Regions from separate parts of the Homo sapiens genome. Here all the other regions are linked to region 1. The links are contacts of gene promoters, found by promoter capture Hi-C in human tissues and cell types (Jung and others, 2019). All regions are on one chromosome and are shown on one strand. Each heading gives the region's core, a stretch centred on a gene start or on the middle of the fragment in contact. The rest is flanking DNA. Distances are from core to core; before and after follow the strand shown. Region 1 holds the start of SYT1 (synaptotagmin 1). Region 2 overlaps LINC02424 (long intergenic non-protein coding RNA 2424). Region 3 overlaps SYT1 (synaptotagmin 1). Region 4 has its middle 14 kb from the start of LINC02424. Region 5 has its middle 30 kb from the start of LINC02424. Region 6 overlaps SYT1 (synaptotagmin 1). Region 7 has its middle 54 kb from the start of LINC02424.

The links. Contacts are between HindIII fragments. The study calls those that stand out against the background at their distance.
Region 2: a fragment that was not itself captured here is called in contact with the fragment with the promoter of SYT1 in region 1 in 1 of the 25 tissues and cell types used here (dorsolateral prefrontal cortex).
Region 3: a contact is called between a fragment that was not itself captured here and the fragment with the promoter of SYT1 in region 1, in 2 of the 25 tissues and cell types used here (dorsolateral prefrontal cortex and hippocampus).
Region 4: a contact is called between a fragment that was not itself captured here and the fragment with the promoter of SYT1 in region 1, in 2 of the 25 tissues and cell types used here (dorsolateral prefrontal cortex and lymphoblastoid cells).
Region 5: a contact is called between a fragment that was not itself captured here and the fragment with the promoter of SYT1 in region 1, in 2 of the 25 tissues and cell types used here (dorsolateral prefrontal cortex and mesendoderm cells).
Region 6: a fragment that was not itself captured here is called in contact with the fragment with the promoter of SYT1 in region 1 in 3 of the 25 tissues and cell types used here (dorsolateral prefrontal cortex, lymphoblastoid cells and mesendoderm cells).
Region 7: a fragment that was not itself captured here is called in contact with the fragment with the promoter of SYT1 in region 1 in 1 of the 25 tissues and cell types used here (dorsolateral prefrontal cortex).

Annotation. Positions count from the first base shown.
Region 1 is chr12:78,863,524-78,867,514 of GRCh38, reverse strand. It overlaps SYT1 (synaptotagmin 1), which reads right to left and starts at 2,741. Exons shown (of 11, transcript NM_005639.3): 1 at 2,406-2,741. RefSeq lists a silencer at 3,898-3,957. The HindIII fragment of the contact is 3,235 bases long and covers 2,377-3,991 here.
Region 2 is chr12:78,352,512-78,356,502 of GRCh38, reverse strand. The region is part of intron 1 of LINC02424 (long intergenic non-protein coding RNA 2424); the gene reads left to right. LOC105369859 (a long non-coding RNA gene) reads right to left here. Exons shown (of 3, transcript XR_945130.2): 3 at 3,817-3,986. Among named protein-coding and RNA genes, the nearest start is that of LINC02424, 5.2 kb to the left of the region's middle. The HindIII fragment of the contact is 3,570 bases long and covers 335-3,904 here.
Region 3 is chr12:79,364,867-79,368,857 of GRCh38, reverse strand. All of the region lies in intron 9 of SYT1 (synaptotagmin 1), which reads right to left. Among named protein-coding and RNA genes, the nearest start is that of MIR1252, 52 kb to the left of the region's middle. The HindIII fragment of the contact is 5,891 bases long and covers 1-3,991 here.
Region 4 is chr12:78,371,982-78,375,972 of GRCh38, reverse strand. No RefSeq gene overlaps it. Among named protein-coding and RNA genes, the nearest start is that of LINC02424, 14 kb to the right of the region's middle. The HindIII fragment of the contact is 7,939 bases long and covers 1-3,991 here.
Region 5 is chr12:78,388,118-78,392,108 of GRCh38, reverse strand. No RefSeq gene overlaps it. Among named protein-coding and RNA genes, the nearest start is that of LINC02424, 30 kb to the right of the region's middle. The HindIII fragment of the contact is 4,254 bases long and covers 1-3,843 here.
Region 6 is chr12:79,339,421-79,343,411 of GRCh38, reverse strand. All of the region lies in intron 8 of SYT1 (synaptotagmin 1), which reads right to left. Among named protein-coding and RNA genes, the nearest start is that of MIR1252, 78 kb to the left of the region's middle. The HindIII fragment of the contact is 5,061 bases long and covers 1-3,991 here.
Region 7 is chr12:78,411,303-78,415,293 of GRCh38, reverse strand. No RefSeq gene overlaps it. Among named protein-coding and RNA genes, the nearest start is that of LINC02424, 54 kb to the right of the region's middle. The HindIII fragment of the contact is 8,122 bases long and covers 1-3,991 here.

The DNA.
Region 1 (3,991 bases), core at 1,492-3,991:
ACTATTTTGTGGGATAACAAAGTAAGAATTTCCTATAATATATCATGTAAGGTCTCTCCCCAATCCACTCACTATATATTGGAATTAGTTCTGATTTCCAATACACAGATATTGAATTTTTTAGAAGTATTTGAAAAACTACTCATATCCATATTTTTAGATGTTATTTCTATAATTAACATTTGTAAAGAGTCATGAAAATAAATGTCACAAACCAAGCCTAAATTTTCACATATTCCTAAGACAGTGGAGAAATGAGAAAACAAAATCTTAATTTTCTCACATGAAGGCAGCTGGCTTCCTTTTTGTACATCTTTTCATGTCTAAACTTGTTAATTCAGTTGTACATACATGTGAGGTAATTAAGTGATTGTCCCTTTGTCCTTGTAACCAAAAGGTGGCACCTCTAAAAACCAGAGTTAGCTTTCAACAGAGACACTATTTTTTTTTTTTTTTCATTTAAATGTCAAAGCCCTAGAAAGAAAATCGTTTTTCGTGACTTGGTAATTCTATTTAGGGAGAGATCATTGCCTCAAATGCAAAATGGTTTGGAAAATAGTACACATTACACTGATGGCAAATGAATTCAGCTCTTCTCTAAGTTGGTGTGTAAACTTATATATTAAACGTACGTAGTGAAAAAATACTCTCTGAGATACAAAATTAGTGTGGAAGGTCAGACACAGTTAAGATAGAAGATTCTCTTTTCTTATATCAAGTGGAGTTCTAGACAAAAAAAAGTAAGACTCTGCATTTCCCCTGATAAATAAAAAGAAGTGTTTTGTATACTAACATCTGTGGATTTCTCTGTGTTCAGGTAAGACCCACTTGGAATGCTTTCCTATTACATCAAACGAGGCATTTCTCTATACCTCCTTCCATCTGACAGTACTATCGCTTAGCTGTCCCTGAAGAATAATAAGAAAAGAAAGCTTATATCCCCAATGATGGAATTAGAGACTGCTGAAGCTGCTGTAAAGGCTCTGTCCAACAAGTACCATTTACTTGACCTATTATGCAGGCAGCCAGGGGCATGTTGGTGTTTTGATATATTTTTCTTTCTTTTAACAAGACGTTACAAAAATGTTTTCCCCTTCAGGATTTTTAAAATTTAGGGTATCTTTCTAGCATTACTTTCTAAACTTAGTTCCAGTACAGGAGGATTCTTGTCCAACTGAGCCTCCATGTGCCTTCTAAAGGGAGTGCTGAAATTGTATAAACATCATGTTTACATCCATTAAATATTGTCCTATTAAAAGAAAATAAAGCCAGGCATAAGTTTGGTATCCAGACAATAAAATGCAAATAGTACAAAGGTAGAATAAAGTGAAAATTCTACACAAATGTAGCTTCCATACAAAAGTTAAACAGTTGCTTTATTTCACGAAAGGGTTAATACTGGAGAAAGTGAATATCAACATGTACACAAAGCTAACTAGAAGATTAGCTTTCTCAAAGTAGAAATCCAAGCCTCCCTATAAAATTGTTGTCCCTTGCAAATGTTTTGAAACTTTACATTTTTTGATCCCCCAACAACAGGCCATACCAAGAAACCTCAGGAAAGTAATAATCTATTTTAATTGTTTTTTTTTTTTTGTTACTCAAGAAAGCTTTCAAAGTTCAGATATTAACACTGATGTGCAATACCAAATTGTTAGCCCCACAGGACAGATGGAAACAGGAAAAGTCAGATGGTTGGCACTCAAAAGCAAAAGCAATTAAGCAGTTGAAAGTGGGTTGGATTGTCGGTTTATTTTTGTTCCATTTGAACGAATCAAGTGAGAGACATAGACTCTTGCAAGGAGGAAATCAAGTCAAACTTGACGCTTCCTCTCTCTGACAGCCCAAGCTGGACTGGTTGTCTACTCCCCTTATTCAGTTTAATTGCTTTATGTGCTCTGATTTTCGCAGAGCTTGTATTCTATCTTGTTTACGTTCCCCCCCCCCCCCATATCCCTCTCCCCAACAGAAAGAAATCTTTCTCCTTTCTTCACTCCCCCTCTTTCCTCTAAGAAAGGCAATCCTCTCCAGGAGGAGAAAGAAACGCTGTGCGTGCTTAGGGTGGGAGGAGGGCGAGAGGGGAGGTGTGGGAGAGAAAGAGAGAAAAGATTGAGATTGGGGGTGGGGGACGGAGGAGAGAGAACAAGAGAAGGAAAGAGGAAGCAAGAAGATGGGGGATGCCCAACATCAACTCCAGGCTCTAAATCACGGGCGCTGTGCAAAGTGCTTTTCCAGGAGATGCACATGTAGTCTCATATTTCTCACAATAGGCCACCCGGGGATCCCTCCCTAGGTCTCAGACTCCCACCACTAAAACCCAAGTGTATCGAGAAGAAAATCTTTGGGATGGATTCGAGCAGATAGGCACCGCCGAGGTGGCCGCGCCGCCAGTCCCGCTTCCTTACCTGGAGGGCGGACCGGGAGGTGGTGCCGGGTCTCGGTCCCCAGTGCTCTCCCCGCGTGGACCGGCGCGAGGCACACGCGTACTCTCGCTGCCTCCGCTCTTGGAGGGGCAGCCTGCAACACAAAAGGGGTGTGTGGGTGTGGGTGTGTGGGAGGTTTTCCAGGGCCACCAGCTGGTCCCACGTGGTCGCCCCCACCCTACACACACCCCTTCGGGGCGCCAAGCCCCCCTCTCGGCTGAGCACCACCCTGGGGACTTGCCCGGGGTGCAGCCTCAAGTTGCCGCTGCTAACTGCTGCTGCCGCTGCCGCTGCTGCAGGAGGAGGTGGAAAGACACTGGGGGCAGTACTCGGTCTAGAGCATCCCCACACTGCAGCTTCTCCAGGAATCCCTCCAGTGAGGAGGCGGCCGCCCATCATCTCCGAGCCCCAGCATCCTGATTGGCTCCACCTCGGGTACGCTGCGCCAAGGAGCCAATCCCCGCGCACTAATAATAGGTGGATCCGTTCAGCCAACATCGCCCATCCCAGTTCTGTTAGTGTCTCTCCATCCCCACAGCGGACAGGGACCTGGGAAGCGGGGTGGAGGCGGGTTGGGGGAGGGGGTGAAGTAAGAGGGGAACAGATCCCAAGGAGACACAATCAAGGGCGTCTGATAAAACCTCTAGGTAGACTCAGGAATGCCCCACAAGCTGTTCAGCAAGCAGTATGCACAGGAGAAAGAGAGCATAATACAAAGCTTTTTTTTTTTTTTTTTTACTCTCAATCAAAACCTACCCTGATACTGAGCATGCCCAGACTGCAACAGCGACCTAGGAGTTTCGATGTGTGTGGGTTCGCCAGCTGTGGGTTTTTGAAAAGCTGGGACCGGGGACAGGAGAGGTAGAAGTTTGTCTTTGGCCATTTAACCCGGCGGAGTTGTGAAAGCTGGGTAGGGTGGGGATGTGAAAGGGTTCCGCACAAGTGTCCTCAAACTGAGCCGCGGGGAGGTGGCCCACCTGGCTGCCGGAGGCTCATCATGCTGTTCTTCTGGGGTTCCGGGTTGGAAGCGGGGGCGGGATAAGCTGAGCTTTGCTGGAAGCCTGGGGACTTCCCGCGAAGGGTGCGGTGGAGCCGAGATGCGGGAGAAGCAGCTCCGTCCCATAGGTGGGGCCGGGAGCGCGACTCCACCCATCAGCGGCGGCTGCCAGGCCGTGGAGAGTGCACTGGGAGTTTCCATTGCAGCGACCAATAAGTTTGTACACTTGGGTCAAGTGCAACATTGTTGGAGATGCTTTTTTATTTTTTCATTTTTATTTTTTGCCACCTCCCTCCCCCATCTCTCTCGACCCCTTGCCAGAGCAGTGACGACTAAAGCATAGATTCTCTCCCTGCTTCCTCTCTTCCCAGCTGAACCGTTCTGCTCGGAAGTAAGAAGCTTTTCTCTTGTGAGGGCGGTGGTGACCTGATTGTCTCTAAGCTCTCAGGCAATTTATAGCTTGGTAATACCGAAATACCGAACAGGAAGGCTCAGCGGGTGGGGGAAGGGACCGCGCGCCAGGCTAGGGGCGGGAGCGGAGCCCAGCTGGGAGAGGGGCCCGTCCATTATC
Region 2 (3,991 bases), core at 870-3,369, 510 kb after region 1:
TCTAGCACCTTTTAAAGATCTAAACAGGACCGGGCGTGGTGGCTCAGTCCTGTAATCCCAGCACTTTGGGAGGCTGAGGTGGGTGGGGCTCATAAGGCCAGCCTGGCCAACATGGTGAAACCCCGTCTTTACTAAAAATAGAAAAATTAGCCGGGTGTAGTGGTGCACTCCTGTAATCCCAGCTACTCAGGAGGCTGAGGCAGGAGAATTGACAGAGCAAGACTCTGTCTCAAAAAAAAAAAAAAATCTAAATAAGAAACATTTGTCATCTGTTGTCTCTAAGGGCAGCCACAATAAGACTTCAAAAGGACCTTGGTCTCTTGGTCTCCACAATCTTTTATCTTAACCTGAACATTTCCTTGAGATAGAGTCTCTGTTACCCAGGCTGGAGTGCAGTGGTGCGATCTTGGCTTACTACAGCCTCTGCATCCCAAGTTCAAGCAATTCTCCCATCTCAGCCTCCCAAGTAGCTGGGGCTACAGGTGCACGCCACCACGCCAGGCTAATTTTTGTATTTTTAGTAGAGATGGGGTTTAACTATGTTGGTCAGGCTGATCTCGAACTCCTGACCTCAGGTGATCTGCCTGGTTCGGCCTCCCAAAGTGCTGGGATTACAGGCGTGAGCCACCGTGCCTGGCCTGAACATTTCCTTTCTATTGATCCCAGGTCTTCAGACAAACCCAATCAATTGTCAACCAGAAAATGCTTAAATTTATCTACAGTCTGGAAGCCCCCACTTTGCTTTGTCCCACCTTTCTGAACCAAACCAATGTATTTCTTAAATGTATTTGATTGATGTCTCATGCCTCCTTAAAATATATAAAACCAAGCTGTACTCCAACCACCTTGGGCACATGATCTCAGAACCTCCTGAGGGCTGTGTCACGGGCCATGATCACTCATATTTGGCTCAGAATAAATCTCTAAAAGTATTTTACAGAATTTCACTCTTTTTGTCAACAAGCACAAAAGACGTTGAAGGTATTTTGACATCTTCGTATGGAAATATAGTGCATTTTAAAATTCACATCCTTTATCAAGAATTTTGTTAGTATGCCTATAAAGTCTCCATAGGTAGAAACAATATTGGATAGGGTAGACCTCTCTAGTTCCTGACTAAACACTTCTTTCTTACTAGCAATGGTTATAATTATTTTTAATCATTTATAAACTTATCTTAATTTTGCTGATATTCAAAGCTTAAACTTGAGGTTTTTACGGTAAATCTTCTTAAAAGTCTTGCTATGCTTCAGATGTACTGTTTTCCATATTTCCATTTGCTAAAGTATCAGAGATATAAAAATGCAGTTATTTATAGAGTTGGCATTGAAGCCTAGAGTTAATTATTCCAATCATATTGGTATTAATCTAGGCAATTGTCAATAAATCAAAAAGATGGAGAAAATGAGTGGCAGTCAGATATTCTGGATATTGTAGAGACAGACCTGAGTCAATTATTTGAAAATTTGTTATAGCTATACTAAAAATAACCAAATAAATTTGCAAAGAATCACTTAAACTGTGCATAAAGAGGCAAATTGAATTTTTCTGTATGTATAATTTTAGTTATGTATCCAGAATATTACATTTTATTTTCTGTGATTATTTAAAATAGTCTTACAAGTGTTAAGGCTATAATTTCTGAATATGTAAAGTTCAGCATACCATATTTTAGCCACAGATATCTGATTGACTAAATTATTTTCTACTACATAATTTGAGTCTCAATATATTAAGACAGTATAAGAAATGATTTTATTAGATGGAAGTTAGTAGAACTGGGACTCTAGGAGACACGGGCTTTAACTAAACAAGAAATCAATATGAATACTTTGGGTCAAATGACTAATCGATCAGTCAATCAGGACAAAAAGCAGTCAAATTAATTTTGTTTGAATTTACTAGAATATTTTTATTTAAAAAAGATTAGTCAAATTAATTGACCATTTGATGCAAAAGAGTCTATTGTGTGAATAAAATTGCTTTTGAAAATCTCTATGTTTTACAGATAGATAAAATGAAATTTGATCACTCAATATAATAGATCTAATAAGTATTTGTTCATTTATTTAATCTAATAACAAATATTTGTGATGTTTCAATATGAGATATTGAAACTCATATTGTTATGAGATACAGTAAGTTAAAGGACATATATATTAATGTGCAAAATATAATAACACAGGATGATGCAGGATGTGATCTATTATTTCAAATTATGTCTACTCATGAATAAATTACAATTTCATTAGAAGGACTCTGGAGAGCCTGGATTTTTGGACTGATTATTATTATTATTATTATTTGAGACGGAGTTTCGCTCTCATTGCCCAGGCTGGAGTACAAAGGCGCGATCTTGGTTCACCGCAACCTCTGCTTCCCAGGTTCAAGTGATTCGCCTGCCTCAGCCTTCCCAAGTAGCTGGGATTACAAGCATGCGCCACCATGCCCGGCTAATTTTGTGTTTTCAGTAGAGACGGGGTTTCTCCATGTTGGTCAGGCTGGTCCCGAACTCCCAACCTCAGGTGATCCGCCCACCTCGGCCTCCCAAAGTGCTGGGATTACAGGCATGAGCCACTGCGCCCAGCCTGGAGTGATTATTTTAATAGTCTTGCAATATACTATAAAGTTATTACAATGCCTTATGGAACTTGAACTGTAAGAACTGAACTAAATTCATCCTGAGCCAGGCAATGTTATTAAATCACATAAGACCTTGCCAGCGCACTGCGTACAATGTCAGGATCAGACAGGATATTGTAGAAAAGATTAATTTAAACTAAATACAAAAATATGTAGATGAAAAATAACTATTATAGGGAGATTTCGATAAAATCTTATGCTGGAGCTTAATTAGATGATAAAAATATGGTGACTCAAGTGCTTTGTCTATGAGAAGAGATGAAGAGAATCACAACTTGAACTCTTCAATGGTTAGGGGAAAAGGCTTCCCCAGGACCAGAAGCCTCATAGCAAATGGGTGAAGATAGAGGCCCAAAACCAACTTCCTTCTTTGATTTTATGCTGCACTTACAAAATTTCAAAAATGTCAGATTGTCTATACATCTGCACAGATAGAAATCCTCAGGGACTAAAAGATTTTAAAAACGAGTAGTCAGAAATGACTAAAATACAACTCCAATGCTTATATATATACCATAGTGTATGCGAGATCTAGAGAGTTGATTCTTCTCGCCCTTCTGATTGTAGAAAATGTATAACTTAATTATCCAGCGGCATTGTTAGTTGCTCTCCAGATAATTTTTAAGAATGAAAATACTGATATGCTAATATTTTATATCTGTGGAAAACTGTTAGTTGTTTCCCAACATTTTTCTTTTCTTTTTTTTTTTTTTTTTTTTTTTTTTTTTTTTTTTTTGAGACGGAGTCTTCCTCTGTCGCCCAGGCTCTGGAGTGCAGTGGTGCGATCTCAGCTCACTGCTAGCTCCGCCTCCCGGGTTCACGCCATTCTCCTGCCTCAGCCTCCCGAGTAGCTGGGACTACAGGCACCCGCCACCATGCCCGGCTAATTTTTTTGTATTTTTAGTAGAGACGGGGTTTTACCATGTTAGCCAGGATGGTCTCGATCTCCTGACCTCGTGATCTGCCCGCCTCAGCCTCCCAAAGTGCTGGGATTACAGGCGTGAGCCACTGCAGCCGGCCTCATTTTTCTGTCTTCCATAATAAAATGATTGTATCTGAATATATGACTGCTCAGCTAGAGGCAATATTTCCCAACCCTCCTTGCAGCTGGGCATGCTAATATGACTAAATTCAGAACAATGGAATGTTGAGCTTAATGGTAACTTACTCCTCACTTACTTAAAATGAAATCAATGCCATCCATTTGGTGTCTTCCTCTTCTTTCATGGGTGAACAGACATGCACACGACCTTTCAAGGGTGGAGAAACGTGGAGGGAGGACTGGGCCTTCACACCTTCTACAGCAAGTCTACTTCACCAGCTCTGACTGACTGGACTATTAACTGAA
Region 3 (3,991 bases), core at 920-3,419, 500 kb before region 1:
TGAACAGGCAACCTACAGAATGGGAGAAAATTTTTGCAACCTGCTCATCTGACAAAGGGCTAATATCCAGAATCTACAATGAACTCAAACAAATTTACAAGAAAAAAACAAACAACCCCATCAAAAAGTGGGCGAAGGACATGAACAGACACTTCTCAAAAGAAGACATTTATGCAGCCAAAAAACACATGAAAAAATGCTCACCATCACTGGCCGTCAGAGAAATGCAAATCAAAACCACAATGAGATACCATCTCACACCAGTTAGAATGGCAATCATTAAAAAGTCAGGAAACAACAGGTGCTGGAGAGGATGTGGAGAAATAGGAACACTTTTACACTGTTGGTGGGACTGTAAACTAGTTCAACCATTGTGGAAGTCAGTGTGGCAATTCCTCAGGGATCTAGAACTAGAAATACCATTTGACCCAGCCATCCCATTACTGGGTATATACCCAAAGGACTATAAATCATGCTGCTGTAAAGACACATGCACACGTATGTTTATTGAGGCACTATTCACAATAGCAAAGACTTGGAACCAATCCAAATGTCCAAAAATGATAGACTGGATTAAGAAAATGTGGCACATATACACCATGGAATACTATGCAGCCATAAAAAATGATGAGTTCATGTCCTTTGTAGGGACATGGATGAAATTGGAAGTCATCATTCTCAGTAAACTATTGCAAGGAAAAAAAATCAAACACCGCGTGTTCTCACTCATAGGTGGGAATTGAACAATGAGAACACATGGACACAGGAAGGGGAACATCACACTCTGGGGACTGTTGTGGGGTGGGGGGAGGGATAGCTTTAGGAGATATACCTAATGCTAAATGACGGGTTAATGGGTGCAGCACACCAGCATGGCACATGTATACATATGTAACTAACCTGCGCATTGTGCACATGTACCCTAAAACTTAAAGTATAATAATAATTTTTTTTTTTAAAAAAAGGTATCATCTCTGCTGTAGGACTAATAAGCAATATTTTTTTTTCACATTTCTTACCTAGGTTCTTAGTATATGTTTTAACTGAGCTACTTATCTGAGATTCTTAGTATATGCTTTAACTGAACTATTTATCCTACCGGCAAGTGGAGCAATTCATCTGATTTAAGGAGAAGGCAGACGTATAATCCAACCAGGTTTTTCTATTTTTTTTTTGAAATGCCAAGATGGGCACAGCCTGGAGATATGTTTAATATGGAAAATGAAATTTCATCGAGAGGAAAGCAAGCTGAAGAGAGTCAAAGGGTGTTTGGATGCAAGCATGTAGAAATTTACATGGGTAACTTTCTTGTTTTTAATGTTGACTACTTGTGGAGATTAAGAATTTGTAGAGACAGGTGAAAGATGAAACCTTGACCACTCAATTATGTAGCAATGAACAACAAATACTGACTCATATTGCATCAATTAGGTATTTATTACCTGGGGCAAAATTATTTGGAAAGACAACCAGGAGCTGCTCTGGGACCAGGTCCTGCCACTTCTAGTCAAATTAACATTGCAACAGCAGGTTCCAACTTGCGGTGGTTCATTTTAGAGAGAGGGAGAGTTTGTCCAGCAACCAGGCATTAACTTGATAATTAGGATGACAGAGGCTCTGTTCTTCCTCTTTGTCCCTACTTGTTGCCCAAATTAGCTGTGTCTGTCTTGGATCTGTTATCATAAAAGAAGTACTTGGAAGACAACTCGGTGTCTTAACTCAAATAAATAGCTTAACAAACTGAAGATCGTAGAAATATACTACTGGTCTGATTTCTTATAAAATATGCTGGGTCTTGTGGCCACAAGTTACAGGAGATGGGAGGAGGATTTGCTGTTAGCTTCAGGATGCCAACATAAGTTAGCCAAAGCAGTTAACTGCCATCCAAATAATGAAGAGGCATTCTTTGAACACACACACACACACACACACACACACACACACACACACACACACACACACAGTATTATTTATATCAGCCATATAGGAACACACATTCTCCTGGAGCCAGGATATGGTGACAAAAATTAAGAGTTAACCAAGAACTGTCTTTTGCTTAGAAATAACCAATATTTATATAGTGCTTTCTACCTGGAGCTTTCACCTAATGTTATCTCATTTGTTTATTCAACAATATGGCTGTCTCTAATACCCTAGTTTTATAGATGAACAGACTGAGGATCAGAAAGGTTAAAGGCTTCCGATCCAGGCTTTCCAGGGCCAGTTGCTGCTCCCTTTCTGCTGCGCCCTGCTGTCTCTCAGGAGAGGGCCTGTTTATGGCTGAGTTGCAACTCCACTGGAGGCCAAGGAGGCAGGGACAAATGCTGGCATTTTCAGATAGGTATTTATTATTAGGCTTTGCCTTGTAGTAACTGTTAAATCATGCCTTAGGCCTGCCTCTTGGCAAGGTCAGGGCACATATAAAGCATTTCTATAAAGTTAAATTCCTGATGGGAGGCTTTTAAGGTTTTTATATTTTAATGGAGTTATTAAAATGAAAGTTCAGACTTGCATAATTCATAAACATTCACTGCCTCTTTTAAAATCTCTTCTACTAAGCTATTTTTAAAAAATTTTGGTGAAATCCTTATAAACATAAAACACTAACATATCTTTCAGGTAAGATTAGAATAGATTCCTAATTACTGTAACTGGAGATATACTGTGATATATTATTGCCCTTTAGGCTAGTTTCATTTGCAATATTTTCACTACATTAAAGACAGTGCTGTAAAATGCAGGAGTGTTTTCTAGATACACGAATTGGCAACTTTTAGTAAAAGTAGCTTTCAGATGCTTAATTGTTTTTATAAAGTCTAGAAATTGGGAACTTCCCTTCAAAATGACTTTCATAGCGGTATGTATTTTTACTTTGACTTTTAGTGACTGTCACATATCTTTTCAAGTTGTTATCATAATAATGCTGCTGGATTGAGTGTTTTAATGGATTCAGACTCCTGCAAATATAGTTGATGAAAATATGAAAATCTACAAGCTAATGACCTGCTTTTTTTTTTTTTTTTCTGGTACTCTTTGCAATCAGTCTAGGCTGTCTTTTTAAGCAACACATTTTTAGATTTTGAACTTAGGGTAATTGCATCTTACTTTAAAATCCTTTCTTATTTAGATGCATAATGACATTGTATAAATGTAACATTTTACTTCTCAGCAACAGCAGCCAGTAGTAGAAGCAGCAGCAAGTAAATTTTAGGAACATTAATAAAATAGAGACTTTCTCCTATTGCTTTTCTTTCTCACTGATATGTAGAAACTCTTTGTATTACAGGGATATTAATACTTGATCTGTTTATGTGAGGCAAAGCTTTCTTTTCGTGTGTTACTCATCTTTCAAATTCATTTATGGCATTTATTTGGGAAGCATGACATCTTTACTATATTGTTCCCTATCCAAGAGCATGTTATTTTTCTATTTATTTAGGTCTCATTTGAAGTCTTTCAGTGAATTTATATAGTTTTTCTCATAGTTATATTTATAAGAGAATTACTAAATATACCATGATACATTCGAACAAAGGGATGCTATGCAACCACTAGATATGGCAGATCTATATGTTGGCCCAAAGGATCTCCATTATATATTGGTAGGTTAAAAATAATTACAGAATAATGTGTTTAAAATCCCATTTTGTAAAATGTATATATATTTGTATATATATGTATAGAATTGATATAAGCAGAAAGAAAACCTGGAAGGATATGAAATTTCAAATTATTTCCTTGAGTCAATTAACTCTGAGGAATGGGAAAGGATTAGAGGGGGCTGATTTGAGTTACTTTTTTACTTATGTATGAAAAGAAGTGGTGGGGTTGTGGATTAACTTTATTTCTTGAGCTTTCCTATAATTTTAAAACTAAAATTCTAGATAAATATTTAAACACAGGGCTATTTGTGAAAGCATTTGTTTCCTTAATAAGGATATGGAAGTTCATAATATTCTCTAAAAATGACAGCTGCGTCAGTAGATTACTG
Region 4 (3,991 bases), core at 871-3,370, 490 kb after region 1:
TTTTTTCTTTCTCTATTTTCAAATGGATTTGAAACCATTTTAGAGCAAATCAGAATCACTGGACTTAGTGGATAACTTCCCAAATATTATTTGAAGAAGCAAAAATGCATTCAGATGTTTAATTGCTAGTAAATTTGTTTAAAACAAAAATGTCATGGCCTTATAATCACACTGTCAATCCAGTGACAAAACTATTAATAACTAATCTCTGGATGTGACTAGAGCTTTAGACCTTACTAAGAAGTTTTACATCCATAATTTCATTCAGTTCTCAAGGCAGATGAGAAGTGATGCTGGCAACGTGGCTTGTGCATCCAGAATGGATGTGGAGCAGTGCTCCTACCTGAGAGTCCATCTGTTGTTGTTTTCCAGAGAAAAAGAGTTTATGGTTAATAACATGATTATTTCTTTCATGGATACAGTGTTACTATCACAGATTGCTTACTCAATTTTAATACTCACTTTAAAATATAAGAATAAAAGTGGCAAAATTAGACTGAGTCTTCACAGATGATATTAAAATAGGCAAAAAAATATTAGAAGGCACAGGCTGGAAATGACTGCAGGAAGCATCCACATCATATCATGGAGGAGGAAACTCAGACCAAAAGTAAGAAACATAACAAAGAGACCACCATCTGTGGGTGTTATTTTGATTTGTATTGATTTATAAATAAAATTCTAATTTTCTAAAATTACTCTAATTCCAATTCATAATTCTAATTTATAAATAAGATTCTTGTTATTTGTACATGAAAATTTAGCTTTACTCAATACTGCACTAAACTGAGAAATTAAAAATTCAAAATTAGATCTCTGTGAGAAAATGTTGACAGAAGGCCTGTCACTGAGATGTATGCACTAATGCCTCGCCAGGCTGTTTCAAAGACAGGAAAGAAGTTAAAAAAAAAAAAAAAATCAAATATATGGATGCCATGAACAGAGGAAAGATTATTTAACTTCATCATATTAAATATAACTATATCAACACTGGTTTGATAAATATTTAAGGGTTTTGCTCATTCGAGGGTCTAAACTTGTACTGCAGAAGGGATAGCTATGAATTAGAATAAATCATTGGTTAAGCATGTTCGTTAACAAGAAATGTGATAAACAGTTGTTAAAAATATTAGTTGAGAGGCAATTAGGCTGAGGCAGCCCCAGTGCCCTGGGTTCCTAGTAAGCAAACAGAAATACAACTCAGTATAAAAGGCACAACAAAACTTAACCTTAACAATCGGGAATAACCAACTAACTTCGAACTAGGGACTTTCCACTGGAATGATCTAAATAAGGCTACTTGCAACACTTTCATTAATCAAATATTTTCTTTTCCTTGCTTCAGTGTTCCTCTTATAAAAATCTTCCAACTCCTTCCGTACCCTGCCTCCTTGCTAGAGCCCCAAACTGCCTGTAGTCTTTAGGCTGCCCCATTTACAAATCGATGTCTGCTCAGATCTACTCTTTACAACTTTATGGTATCTAAATTTATCTTTCAACACAATGGAAATAAACAATGGGGATAAAATGATAAATGTTGTAAGTGTTGTTAAAATGTTATAGAAAATTAATTCCAACCCCAGGTAGTTAGAAAGACTTCATGAAAGAGGTAGCAATTTTAAAGGAAGAATAGGACTCAGACATTCTAGGCAGAGAAAACAGTAGGGACATAGCACAGAGATTTTTGAAAAAAGTTTAGGTCATCGAGAGAGAAAAATGAATAACCTGGTTTGAGGACAAAGTAACACAGAGGGATAATAGTACCAAGAGATAAAAGCTCAGTGGGGTGAAGTCAGGAAAGCTTTGAATTTCATGCTAGGAAATGGGGCTTTATTTGATTGACAATGGCGCGTTATCAAAGAATTTTTAGCAGAGACATGCATGTTTACTACAGTGACGTAGAATGATTTTTCTAGGAGCTGTATTAAAGATACATGGAAAGGGAAAGACAGTGGAGATGTTCACAGAGAGAACCAGCCAACCTCTAAATTAGGAAACAAAAGTAGGGGCATACAGACATACAAGAGAGTTGAGGAAATGAATAGCTAAGCCATGGCTCCATAATGGCTGATACTGCTTGTTACATCAATTTGCTCTTTCCTCTTTTCAGCTAATCAATTTTTTGTGTTTAAATTTCAATTTAGATTTCTAAATAATGTAATTTTAAAATGCCAAAAATTATATCAATTGAATAATAACATAGATGTATACTGTTTTTTGTTTTGTTTTGTTTTGCTTCCTGCCATAAAGTGGTGGCAAGTGATGCCTGGCAAACATAAGTATTTAATTTTTTTAAAGGTGAAGTGTAGACTGCAAACACCATATAAACAAAGGGGATAGTGGCACTTACTTGCCTTTGTTTTAGGTTTTAGTGACCAGCTGAGAAACAGTGGAAGACCACAACCATCAAAAAGCCTATCTGCATATTCATCCACAGAAACACTCAGTGTTCATATGTAAAATATGTGGTTAGAGATAACCTATAAAAATATATATCTTTTGAGGCCAGTATAAGTTATCAAGACCAGAAAAGATTTCTTACATGAGAAAGGAGGAGAATAATTAAATATTAAATTTTATATCTGAGTGAAACATTGACAAAATTTGCTAACATCTATAAAGAATACAAGTACAACTATATATAAATCAATGTATAAATATTTGAAAGAAAAGATCAGCATAGTTTATGTGTCTCCATATGACAGAGAGGCAGGCACACTTGATGACAGAAAAGTGAAGCCCTTAATAGATCATGTAGTCTCAGAACTTCAGTCAGGCTTTTGTTTTCACCATACGTAATATTTCTGTACACAATTAGAATGCTTGTTAACTGGTATTGTCTCCATGTCATCTGGGTCCCATGGGGTCCTACTGGACACTGTTGCCACTCTATCAGGCAGTGCAGGGTAGTCCCAGAGTGACTGTCTCTCTTTTGTATTATTCTTTTTTGCTATTAATTATTCCTTTATAAGAGGAATCATAGGAATCATATACTTTTATATGTAAATGGGATTCTTTCTTTCACATTTAGATATATTCAAATCCCTCCCAAATCAGATTGAAGCATGTGTCTCTATGGGCAGTGGGGCAGGGGCAAGGCAGGATTGTTACAACAGTAACAAATATTAACCTTTAATTTCTGATCACCTTGTGCATTGCCCCTGGACCAACCTGGCAGTAGTCAAATTAATTCATTCCTTCATTCATTCGCTCGATCAATAAATGTTTCTTAGATGCTGATTTTATTTCAAATACTATCCTAGGCCCTGGAGATATATTGTGAATTATTATTTTATCCTTGTAGAGCTTATGTCTTAGTTGTTTTTCTAGAAACGCAAATAGATAATATTTCAGGTGGTGGTAAATTCTTTTTTTTTTTTTTTTTTTTGAGACACAGTATCGCTCTGTCACCCAGGCTGGGGTGCAATGGCGTGATCTCGGCTCACTGCAACCTCTGCCTCCCGGGTTAAAGGGATTCTCCTGCCTCAGTTTCCCGAGTAGCTAGGATTACAGGTGCCTGCCACCACGCCCAGCTATTTTTGTATTTTTACTAGAGTTGGGGTTTCACCATGCTGGTCAGCTGGTCTCAAACTCCCCACCTCAGGCAATCCACCTGCCTCAGCCTCCCAAAGTGCTGGGATTATAGGTGTGAGCCACTCCACCTAGCCCAGGTGGTAGTAAATTCTATGGGAAAACAAAGCAAACTAAGGAGACCAGAGTGTTAACACAGGCTGAGGGGAGGTGAAGGGAAAGTGCTATTATTAAACTGGCCCATGCAGTGGCTCATGCCTGTAACCCCAACACTTTAGGAGGTGGAGGCGAGAGGATTGCTTGAGACCAGGAGTCCAAGACCAGCCTGGGCCACATCATGAGCTATCATCTCTACAAAAAAAAAAAAAGCTAGCTGTGGTGGCATGTGCTTGTAGTTCCATTTAGTCAAGAAGCTGAGGCAGGAAGATTGCTTGAGACCAGGAGTTGAGGCTGCAGTGAG
Region 5 (3,991 bases), core at 467-2,966, 470 kb after region 1:
ATATGAACTAAAGTCATCTTTACCTGCACTAAAATTCAAAATTCCTAAGTCATACTTTCTAATAAATGGGATTTCCAAGGGTCTTATTCTTATGCACAGGGAATAGCTGCAGCTTCCTGGGAATCCCTCCATGGCTTCCTAGCATCTGTCCAAACCCTAAGAATAACAGGTAAGATACCTTAGTCCCTAGCCATGCCTTTAGTAGGCTGCAAACTAGAGGGTTCAAAGTGCTTTAAACTTGAAGTGATTGAATACAGATCTTATTTTTAGGGGAGAATGACAGCATAATTACCATGGAGAGACACTGAGTTCATGAGCTCTTGATCCATTGAGGTAGCATGAAGAAGAAAACATTTAGGATAAATGAATGAATATCATATTAAAATAATATTAAGAGAATATAGTAGAATAGTTAATATATACCCTTAAAAATTGTAACCCACAGCAAAAGTACATTTTACTGCAACTACACACATATATATGCATAAGTTAAGCACAGGAACAGGTGTTCCTATGCTTTAACAGAGAGATATAAAGTAAAGAAGTTCATTTCTCTCATGAGAAGTTCCAGATGGAAGAATCAGGCCTGGAATGTTGAGCTAGGTTTCTTCTCTTTTGGTGTCTGGCCTTCCTCATTACACCACATTTTTGTCTAAGCTAGGTGCTTCACTGCCCATCACCATGCCACACTCAATCAATGACAAAAAGGAAAAAACAAAAAAGAGGGGACTATTTAATAGATAGACATGATTTAATATTCTTTTTTTTCTGCTATAACATTAATACCACAGACTGGGTAATTTATAAAGAAAAGAAGTTTATTTAGCTTATGATTCTGGAGACTGAGAGGTCCAAGAGCATTGTACCAATCTGGCAAAGGCCTGAGGTGGCAAAACGGTAGAAGGGCAAGTGAGTGTGAGAGAGAAAAAAAACGGGCCAAACTTCCACAATAACTAACCCACTCCTGCAATAACAGCACTTGTCTATTCATGAGGCCAGAGCCCTCAAGACCTAACTACCTCTTAAATGTTCCACCCTTTAATACTGTTGCAATAGCAATTAAATTTCAACACGAGTTTTGGATGGGTTATTCAAACTACAGCAAGGTCATACTCTCGCCTTAAAGTTCATGCAATAGAAGTTATACGTTTCAATTCAGTTCATATCCTACTGGCAGGGCTTTATTATGCAGTCACATCTAGAGGTACAAGGGACTGGAAAATACCAGTTTTAGCTGAGTGGTCATGAGCTGAGTTAATATTCTATTAGGTGGAAAAAGATGTGTAGGCTAGGGTAATGCTAGCTTCTATTTAAAAACAAAAAAGAGAGGTCTCCTCAAATGAAAAATAGGTCAAACACAATCAAAGTTTATTTCTCATCTGTGTCTGGCATTTGTCAACAGAAATAGGCTTATACTGGCTCTGCCATCTTTAATACATGGGTTCCATTGCTGGGGAGGTGAGAGAGGTGTTCTCTTCTTTACATGGTTGAGGAAGTAAGAAAAGAGGATGGAGAAAGTATTCATGTTTCTTAAACACCTTCACCAAGAAATGACAGATTTAATGTGTCATTTTTATATCATCCATTGGCAAGCAGTTTTGTGATCCTATTTAGATGCAAAAGGGGCTTAAAAATGTCCCTGGATAAGCACCTACTTCCCAATATCAACTCTGTAGTATGCATGACAGCATGAATTTGGGTGGAAAGGTAGTTTTCTCTGGAATAGAAAAGAAGAATGAATATCGAAGTCTACTTCAGTCTCTGCCATCACTGCCGATTTAGGTCACACTTTTCAACGACAATTAAAACATGCTCTTCCCCATCCCACCCTCCAAGAGAGACAACTGAAAAGATCTATTCAGGTCCTGCATCTTGCTAAAGTTATCTTTCCCCTGCTCCCCAACCTAAACCATAGTGGTGAATAACAGGATAGACATAATATTTAAAAAGCTCAATTTTTAAAAAGGAAGAATAGAAACAATACAGCAGTAACTGGATTCAATATCATGGCAGTGGAGTAATTTCCTATGTTAAGCTATCTGGAAGCACTTTGAACCACTCTCTGCTGCACACCTTTCTTCGTTATTATCCTATGAATTTATGGCTTTGCCTTTAGGGAGGTTCTTGCATATCCATTATCTCCATGGCCAGATATGAAGTAGACATTGGAGAGTCTTACCAACTTGGTATGACTCAGAATGCTGGCAGGCTTCTTCCTGATGGTTGGTACAGGTTTAGGGAGACACAGTTTGCCTGAACGGGTAGGCTATGACAGACTTTTGTAAGCCTGGCCCGAGGTTTCTTTGGCAATGCAATACTGCAAAAACCTTTGGTAGGTCCACAGACTCTATTTCCACCAGTTCTGGTTGCAAGTAAATAAAGCCAAAGTTCTCATCTCAATGTTGTTTTTTAGCCTGAAAACTTTGGCCTTTAGTTACTTGCTTCCATGTCCTGTCAATTTCCTTCTTGCTCAATTTAATAGTGACCAACTTAAGGAGAAATAAAACAATTGGTTTTAGTAGGAAGGCAACATTCTTAATCTAATGTTTCCCACTGGGCTGGCTCCTATTGTCTGGCAGTCTTAATGGTTTTGTCCAGCCTTACTTATCTTCTGCTAAGACTATTTCTTGATTTAGAGACTCATTTTATCACTGCCTCAGTTTGGGCACAGAAGCCTTTGTTTTTCTGTCAGAATTGATTTTTAAAGCCCTGAATCATAAGACTCTAGTCAATTTAGATCACAGGCCAAAAACAAGTAAAGAAAAATAAAAACCCCAGAAAGCCTATCTTACCACAACTACATTTTTTTCCTTTTCACCTTGCAAGTGACTAGTTCTAACTTGAGTTGTCTCTCTAGTAAGACTCTGCTATGTGGAAAAAAAATTAAAAATTAAAAACAAAACAGCCAATGCAGGCAGCAAGAGTATAAGAGTTAAAGGCTTGGTTGGCAAATGGTCTTATGTCCAAGATCTCTCCAAGTCAACTTTCTAAAATGTTTTGCCATAATATACGTATTGTCAACAGCTATCCAGTCCAATATCTGTGTCCTCACTTCCTGCCACCTAGTCACTAAGCCAATATAGTATTTTTAAGTGTTGTTCCCATGGCCCACTCAATTTAACCATGGTCAGAGACAATCCGAAATAAAGCTTAAACAAGACAGATGCTTGTTTATGTCTTAATTAGAAGTCAGCTAGGTGGTCCAAAGATGATATGGAGGCACCATAATCATCAGGGTTTCAGGGTCATTCAATCTTCTTGTCTTGCCATTTTCAACACATGATTTCTATTTAGTGATACAAGTTGCTACTTCAGCTGTCACCACTATGTCTGCATTCCAGCTAAAATAGAAGTCAGGAGAAGAAAGAGGCCAAATTTCCTTCTCTCAAAGGCACAACCCCAAAGCAGCATACTTCCCTTCTGTTTATATTCTTTCAGGGGGAAGTCACATGGTCTTTCCCAGCTAGAGGGAGGCTGGGAAATGTAGTCAAAATGCAGCTGTCTATCATTTAAGAAGAAAAGAACAGGTATTTGAGGAAAATCCAGCAGCCTTTTTCATTTGTGTATGTCACTGAAACAAAAATTTAACACAAAATCTGCCCTAACTATTTACAATACCCCCTGATATTTCTACTCAAGTCCATCTAGTAAAAATGCTGATCAAACCCATAAAAGTAATTTCTCTACTTATTAATGCATAAAACCATCAATATGTGGGTCTAGAAGGCAAGCTTAAGCACCATACCCTTCATTCTAATTCTGCATCTTTGATTATTAAAAGGACTCTTAACCTTTAGGGATAATCTCAGTTTGTAGAAGACTTCAGGGACAAAAAACACACCTACTCCCAGATACAAGGCAAAATAACTAAAACAAAAAAAGAAGAATGGAAAAATAAATCTCTCTTATCAGCCTTTAATTAGAGACTAAGTCCTTCACAATTAGAGATAAAAAGCTTAAAGAAGATACAAAGACCTCGAGGTGTTAACCA
Region 6 (3,991 bases), core at 1,026-3,525, 480 kb before region 1:
AGTTAGAAGAGTTCCTGGCTCACAAAATGTACTGTGTGAGTGTTCGCTATTATCATAACAAAATTCCTATTTCAACTATCCTCTTTTCTACATGTGCCATGTCTCTCTGCTCCTTTGCACAGCCAAATTTCTTGAAGAAATTGGTTACAATCACTGTCCCCATTTTTTCATGTTCCATTGATTTCTCTCTCCATCATTTTATTAAAATAGTTGCTACTAAGATTTCAAATGACATCCATATTACCGAACCATTAATATTTTGCAGGTCTCATTTCCATGAACTTTCAGCAGAATTTATTGACTCCCTTTCTTTCCTTGGATTCTATAATACAATGATTTCCTGATTTTAGTTTCTCTGCCTCCCTGGCCACTCACTCTTGGTCTCCCTTTGCAGGGTGTAGTTATAACTAACTTCTTTTCTTCATAAACTAATCTTATCCCAGTATATGGTTTTAGTTATAATATGGAAGTGATTCTCCAGTTTGTATCTCTAGTTTAGATATTTTCTCTAAGCCCCAGACTTTTATATCTAACTGTCCACTAGTCATTGAATATCTCACACTCGTTTTAGACTCGAATGCCAAAAACTGAATTTATGATCTTTCTTCTAAATCTGGTTCACTCGATTTCAACAAATGATATTAGCATCCAAGGGGTTGCTTAAGCCAGAAAACTGGGCATTATCACTGATCGTTGATCATTGACTTCTTTTGAGTTCTGATTTTATTTATCATAAAATCTCTCAATAAGTTCACTTGTTTCCATCCTTATAGTCTTCACCATGTGATCAAATAATCTCTCATATAGATTACTCCAATACCCTCTTAATTGGTTTCCTGAAATTTACTCTTAGAATACAATTGACAGAGTCACCTTTTAAATAACAGGCATCGTATCTCACTCCTATAATCCCCGCACTTTGGGAGGCCAAGGAGGGCGAATAGCTTGAAACCAGGATTTTGAGACCAGTCTGGGCAATGAAGCCAGACTCTATCTCTACAAAAAACAAAAAAATAGCCGGGCATGGTGGTGCATGCCTGTGGTTCCAGTGACTCAGGAGGCTGAGGCAGGAAGATCAGTTGAGCCCGAGAGTTTGAGTCTTCAGTGAGCTATGATTGTGGCACTGCACTCCAGCCTGGGCAACAGAGCAAGACCCTGTCTCTAAAAAACAAAACATCAAAAAACCAAATCTTAAAATCCTTAAGTAGGTCTCCTATCTCTCTTGAGTTAAAAGGCCCAAATTCTTATGATCATTTAGAATAATCTTCAAGTTCTATTTCCTACTTATTCCTCTGCCTCATCAAATGCCTCTTTCTCCCTCTGCGCAACAGCCACAAGGGGAAAGCCTTCTTTATATCATTAACTGTGCCACGCCACCTACACTTTCAGAGGCTTCACATAAACAGTTCCTTTTGCTTGACATTCTGCCCTCTTGCCACCCTCCCGTTTACTTAGTTAACTTTCACTCATCTTTCACATCTTTCTGAATGACGAGGCGGGTGGATCACGAGGTCAGGAGATCAAGACCATCCTGGCTAACACGGTGAAACTCCGTCTCTACTAAAAATACAAAAAATTAGCTGGGCATGGTGGCGGGTGCCTATAGTCCCAGCTACTTGGGAGGCTGAGGCAGGAGAATGGTGTGAACCTGGGAGTTGGAGCTTGCAGTGAGCTGAGATCATGCCACTGCACTCCAGCCTAGGCAACAGAGCGAGACTCTGTCTCAAAAAAAAAAAAAAAAAAAAAAAAAAGAATGAATGTATTTATTAAGTATTCCACTCTGGCAGAGACTGCCAGAGTCTCTGTAGTTTACCAAAAGTCCACGCTCTTCTTCCTGAGAACACAGCTAGACTACATTTCCCAGCCTTTCTTGTAGTTAGATGTGGTCTTGTGATTGGGTTCTAGCTAATGGAATGTGAACAGAAGTGATGTGCACCACTCCTAGACCCAGTCCCCCAGAACTCCTACCCATGATTTTTTTTCTTTTCTATGTCTGTGATAGTGACCTCAGAGTGACCTTGGAAGCTACATGCTGAAATGCTGAAGATGGCAGAGGTTCAGTGAGACAGGATCCTTGAAGATTTAATAAAGCAGAGCCCTACCTGCCAAGACTTCTCTTTTGCAGAACCCATTACGTGTTTGGGCCTATTTGTTATTGTAGCCTAGCCTGAAATAATTAATACTAATAATAAATAAATGACTTCTAAACAGTGTTTTCAGAAGTATAATTAGTGATCCACTTAAAAATCTGTGGTTTGTAGAAAATGAGTAAAGCTTAGTCTTATATGTCAAACCCTTATGTTGGGTTTTCAATATGCCAGTCATGCTACAAAGAACTAGAAACAAAGGATGATTAAAACATGTCTTTGCCCTAAGAAGCTTTTTCAATGCTGGCATGAACAGGCATATAAACAAAAATTCAACATAAAATTGTAGGTGTCATTATAGAAACATGTATTAGGAAGGACCACTATAGAGAAAGTAGAGGAATTTGTAAATAATTACTACTGTGACTTTTTAGTGGAGAGTAGGGAAAAGTGAATTCCAAAAGTGTCCTTGTCAAAAGATTCTTTATGCTATAGTGTGCTGAGGTACTTGAAATTCTACCATTTATTACCTTTAGCTAAAGCTTTAGATCTCTATGGGTCCTTTAAAACAATATGAAACACTGTTTCACCCCCTAATGGGCAACATGGCATCCATCATGGTATGAAATTGTAGTTGGCCAGAGGGCAATCAGGCAAGGGAAAGAAATAAAGGGTATTCAATTAGGAAAACAGGAAGTCAAATTGTCCCTGTTTGCAGATGACATGATTGTATATTTAGAAAACCCCATTGTCTCAGCCCAAAATCTCCTTAAGCTGATAAGCAACTTCAGCAGTCTCAGGATACAAAATCAATATGCAAAATCACAAGCATTCTTATACACCAATAACAGACAAACAGAGAGCCAAATCATGAGTGAGCTCCCATTCACAATTACCACAAAGAGAAAAAAATACCTAGGAATCCAACTTACAAGGGATGTGAAGGACCTCTTCAAGGAGAACTACAAACCACTGCTCAAGGAAATAAAAGAGGACACAAGCAAATGGAAGAACACTCCATGTTCATGGACAGGAAGAATGAATATCATGAAAATGGCCATACTGCCCAAGGTAATTTATAGATTCAGTGCCATCCCCATCAAGCTACCAATGACTTTCTTCACAGAATTGGAAAAAACTACTTTAAAGTTCATATGGAACCAAAAAAGAGCCCGCATTGCCAAGACATCCTAAGCAAAAAGAACAAAGCTGGAGGCATCACACTACCTGACTTCAAACTATACTACAAGGCTACAGTAACCAAAACAGCATGGTACTGGTACCAAAACAGACATATAGACCAATGGAACAGAACAGAGCCCTCAGAAATAACACCACACATCTACAACCATCTGATCTTTGACAAAACTGACAAAAACAAGAAATGGGGAAAGGATTCCCTATTTAACAAATGGTGCTGGGAAAACTGGCTAGCCATTATGTAGAAAGCTGAAACTGGATCCCTTCCTTACACCTTATACAAAAATTAATTCAAGATGCATTAAAGACTTAAATGTTAGACCTAAAACCATAAAATCCCTAGAAGAAAACCTAGGCAATACCATTCAGGACGTAGGCATGGGCAAGGACTTCATGACTAAAACACCAAAAGCAATGACAACAAAAGTCAAAATAGACAAATGGGATCTAATTAAACTAAAGGGCTTCTGCACAGCAAAAGAAACTACCATCAGAGTGAACAGGTAACCTTCAGAATGGCAGAAAATTTTTGCAATCTACCCATCTGACAAAGGGCTAATTTCCAGAATCTACAAAGAACTTAAACAAATTTACAAGAAAAATCAAACGACCCCATCAAAACGTGGGCAAAGGATATGAACAGATACTTTTCAAAAGAAGACATTTATGCAGCCAACAGACACATGAAAAAATGCTCATCATCA
Region 7 (3,991 bases), core at 564-3,063, 450 kb after region 1:
TATTTCACAAAAGGAAGCACTTTAATAACCAAAAGAGGGAAAAAAAAAGAGAAAAACTGATATGTTCTGTAGTTGATATTAATAGGTATTTTATTAAAGGCAAGGTGAACTAACTTTATAAAACATACTCTGATGCCTTTTCTGTAAAAAATATGAACCATTTTAGGACATTTTATGCATCTGTAGGCTCAGACACTGACTTAAGTGTTATAAGCAGTTCATTATATTTTTTTGTGAAGAAAAGGGACATTTTATTTCTATCATTTAAATTTCTGTAACATTCATGCTAGACAGCTTATTGTAAGTTTAAAGTACAGAATAACAGTGTGCACATCTTTAGGATGTTAGAGATTTATTTCTGGTCTGCAAATAGGGGATTGACTAGAACCATTCATTAATTCCACAAATATACAGTCAGCTTTTTCTGGGTTTTAGGTATGTACAACGTTGAGGAAAATGTGATCCTTGACCCAAGGAGCTTATAGCCTAAGAGAGAAGTTACAGGACACGTGCATATTCTTATTATTAAATAAAACATTCAAAATCATTAGAGGTTAAAAAGTGCTTTTGAATTTAGAGGAGTAAAAAATATATACATGGAACAGTTATCAAAGGTTCATTAGGATGGGTCTTAATATTAAGTCCTTAATGTTTGGGCAAAAATTAGATGAAATCAATTGAATGAGTTTGGAGGAGTAACAGTAACAAGAGACTAGAAGAATGAGAAGGTAAGTATGGTCCTTGACAGTGAATAATCCCATCTGACTAGAAAATAGAGTACGGGAAAAATGAAGACAGAAAAGGAAGCTTAATAAAAATCTTGTACGTTTCTTGAATGTTGAGCTAAATAATTTGGACTTTATTCCTCAAGTAATTAAGAAGAATGAGAATTAGTATATATTGCATTATTATGCACCTTCTAAAACCAGTTATTTACATAGGCTATGTAATTTAATTTCCTCATCAACCTCATAATGAAAGCAATTTACACACAGGAGTCTGTAAATGGGATTTAAGTGGCTCTTGTTCCAAAGCTCCTTTTTCTACATGACTTCTTTGTGGTCATAAATGACTTTGAGAATTTCATGAATGCTATGGAACTTCTTTCCAAAGAAATGCATATGTACACATATAGAAATGCATATGTACACATATACACAAAATTTCTCTTATAATTTCATGGTATTTATTAATTTCCATTTTCATTCCCTGTTAAAACACTCTTGCTCCACCCAAAGATATCTCTCATAAGGCAATGCATTTCCTTCTGATTCCATGATCCAGTAATATTTCAACATGGGAATATATAAAATAATACTATAGAACTGAGTTTTCAATAAGGCCATTATGTTTCCTATTGTATCAATAAAAAAGGAATGTGTAAATTAAATGATTAAAACAACGTAATAATTTCACCCCAAATTTGAAAGTATTCATCTTATAAAACAAAACAGATTGGTCTAAATCTGAACCAGCTCACATTAATTTGAATTTCTTCAATGTTTTATTAGCTTTTACTTGTCTTAATATTTTTATCTAATGTTTTCCCTTTTTAAAAAATTTGAATATCCTATTTTTACCCATATCTTTCAATTTAAATATAAACATTTTTCTTGGTTGGAAATTTTTGCATTTCAGTTGCTTAGCCATTTTGTCCTTAAGGTCTTAGGGACAAAATGGCTAAATCTGAGTCCTGAATCTCTATTGCTAGCAATGTGAATCTGGACACATTACACACACTGCATTTTATTTAAAACCAGAAAACTCTGTCAGGTTCTTTTCCTGAAAACTGGGAATAATAGTAATTATGCCCTTCCTTAAATGATTATTAAATGTAGAAAATTTCTAAATGATCGAAGTAGTTTGATATCCATTATATCCATTACTATTCAATTCATGACCATTCTTTAAAACCTAGTTGTAACAGCATTAAGTTTGGGAATTTTTTTTTTTTTTTTTTTTTTTTTTTTTTTTAAGACAGAATCTTATTCTGTCACTCAGGCTGGAGTAAAGTGGCATAATCTCGGCTCATGGCAACCTCCACCTCCCAGGTGTAAGTGACTCTCCTGCCTCAGTCTCCCAAGTAGCGGGGACTATAGGTGCACACCACCATGCCTGGCTAATTTTTGTATTTTTAATAGAGACAGGGTCTCACCAGCCTGTTTTGTTGGCCAGGCTGATCTCGAACTCCTGACCTTAGGTGATCCACCTGCCTCGTCCTCTCAAACTGCTAAGGTTACAGGTGTGAGCCACTATGCCCAGCCAAGAAACAACTTTAAAAGGCAAATATTTAAGAATAAGAAAAAGCATAGTTTAAAAGATAAATATATAAATAATAAATGATATAAGTGATATAATAAGAGCTTGATATAAAATGTTAGGAAAACACAGAAGAAGTAATGACTGAGTCCTGGAATAGTGCAATAAAGAGGTAACATTTGAGTGGAACCTTCCAGAAGGGGTTTTCTAGGTTGACTTAGCTGACTATTAAAGTAATTCTCTATGTAAAACAGCAGCTTCCTGTTCTTGTATAACATATTAGCCCATGGAACATGCTTTAGAATATGAACATTACAGAAGCAAGAGAGAAATGCTATATTTTGATTTAAATGCTACTTACTGGGCCATTCATATGGTTGAAAACATGCAATATCTTTTCAGTTACGTTGAGAAGTGCATACATTGCATTTGTTTGAAATTCAGGTATTAAAGTCAGTCATGTAAATGACATTTTAAAAAACAATGAAACGAATGTATTACTTGAGGGGTCAAATATATTTTGTATTGTCAATCAGTTTGAAAATTCTTATGAGTAATAATTACCAACTCTAAACCACACAAATGACATTGTTTCTAAATATGTCACCAAGGATGGGTGTCTCTCCATGTCAATTCCCTCCTTGATATTGCACTTGTGTTCATCAGAGCTTCTTTTAAATAAAATATTTTAGGTTTAGGGGTACATGTATGTGCAGGATTTTTATATAGGTAAACTGCATGTTGTTGGAGTTAGCTGTGCAGATTATTTAGTCACCCAGGTAATAAGGATAATACCCAATAAGTATTTTTTTAATCCACTCCCTCCTCTCACCTTCCACCCTCAAAGTAGGCCCCAGTGTCTGGTAGTTCTCCTCTTTGTGTCCCTGTGTTCTTGTTGTTTAGCTCCCACTTATAAGTAAGAAGATGCAGTATTTGGTTTTCTGTTTCTATATTAGTTTGCTTAGGACAATGGCCTCCAGCTCCACCCATGTTGCTGCAAAGGACATGATCTCATACTCTTTTTTTCCAGGTAAAATTATTTATTTTATTTTTTAACTTTTATTAAGTTCCGAGATACATGAGGTTTGTTACACAGGTAAACTTGTGTCAGGTGGGTTTGTTGTATAGATTGTTTCATCACCCAGGTATTAAGCCTAGTACCCATTAGTTATTTTTCCTGATTTTCTCCCTCTTCCCACACTCCAGTCTCCAGTAGATCTCATTCTTTTTTATGGCTGCATAGTATTCCATGATGTATATGTACCATATTTTCTTTATTCAGTCTACCAGTGATGATCATTTAGATTGATTCCATGTCTTTCCTACTGTGAATGATGCATGATTAACAGACATGCATGTGTCTTTATGGTAGAATGAATTATATTCCTTTGGGTATATACTCAACAATGGGATTGCTGGGTGGAATAGTAATTCTGTTTTAAGTTCTTTGAGAAATCGCATCAGAATGGCCATTGCTAAAAAGTCAAAAAATAACAGATGCCGCAAGGTTGCAGAGAAAAGGGAACACTTACAAACTGCTGGTGGGAGTTTAAGTTAATTCAGCCACTGTGGAAAACGGAGCTGCTTTTCTTGCTCTGCCAGGAATCAGTATAGTCATCTAACATTTACTGAGTCTTTAATCTGTACCAGTTACAATGCTAAGCATTCTGTAATGTTTTACTTTAGTTTTCTCCGATTTTACAGATGAAAAGTCAGATTGAAAGAGATTAAG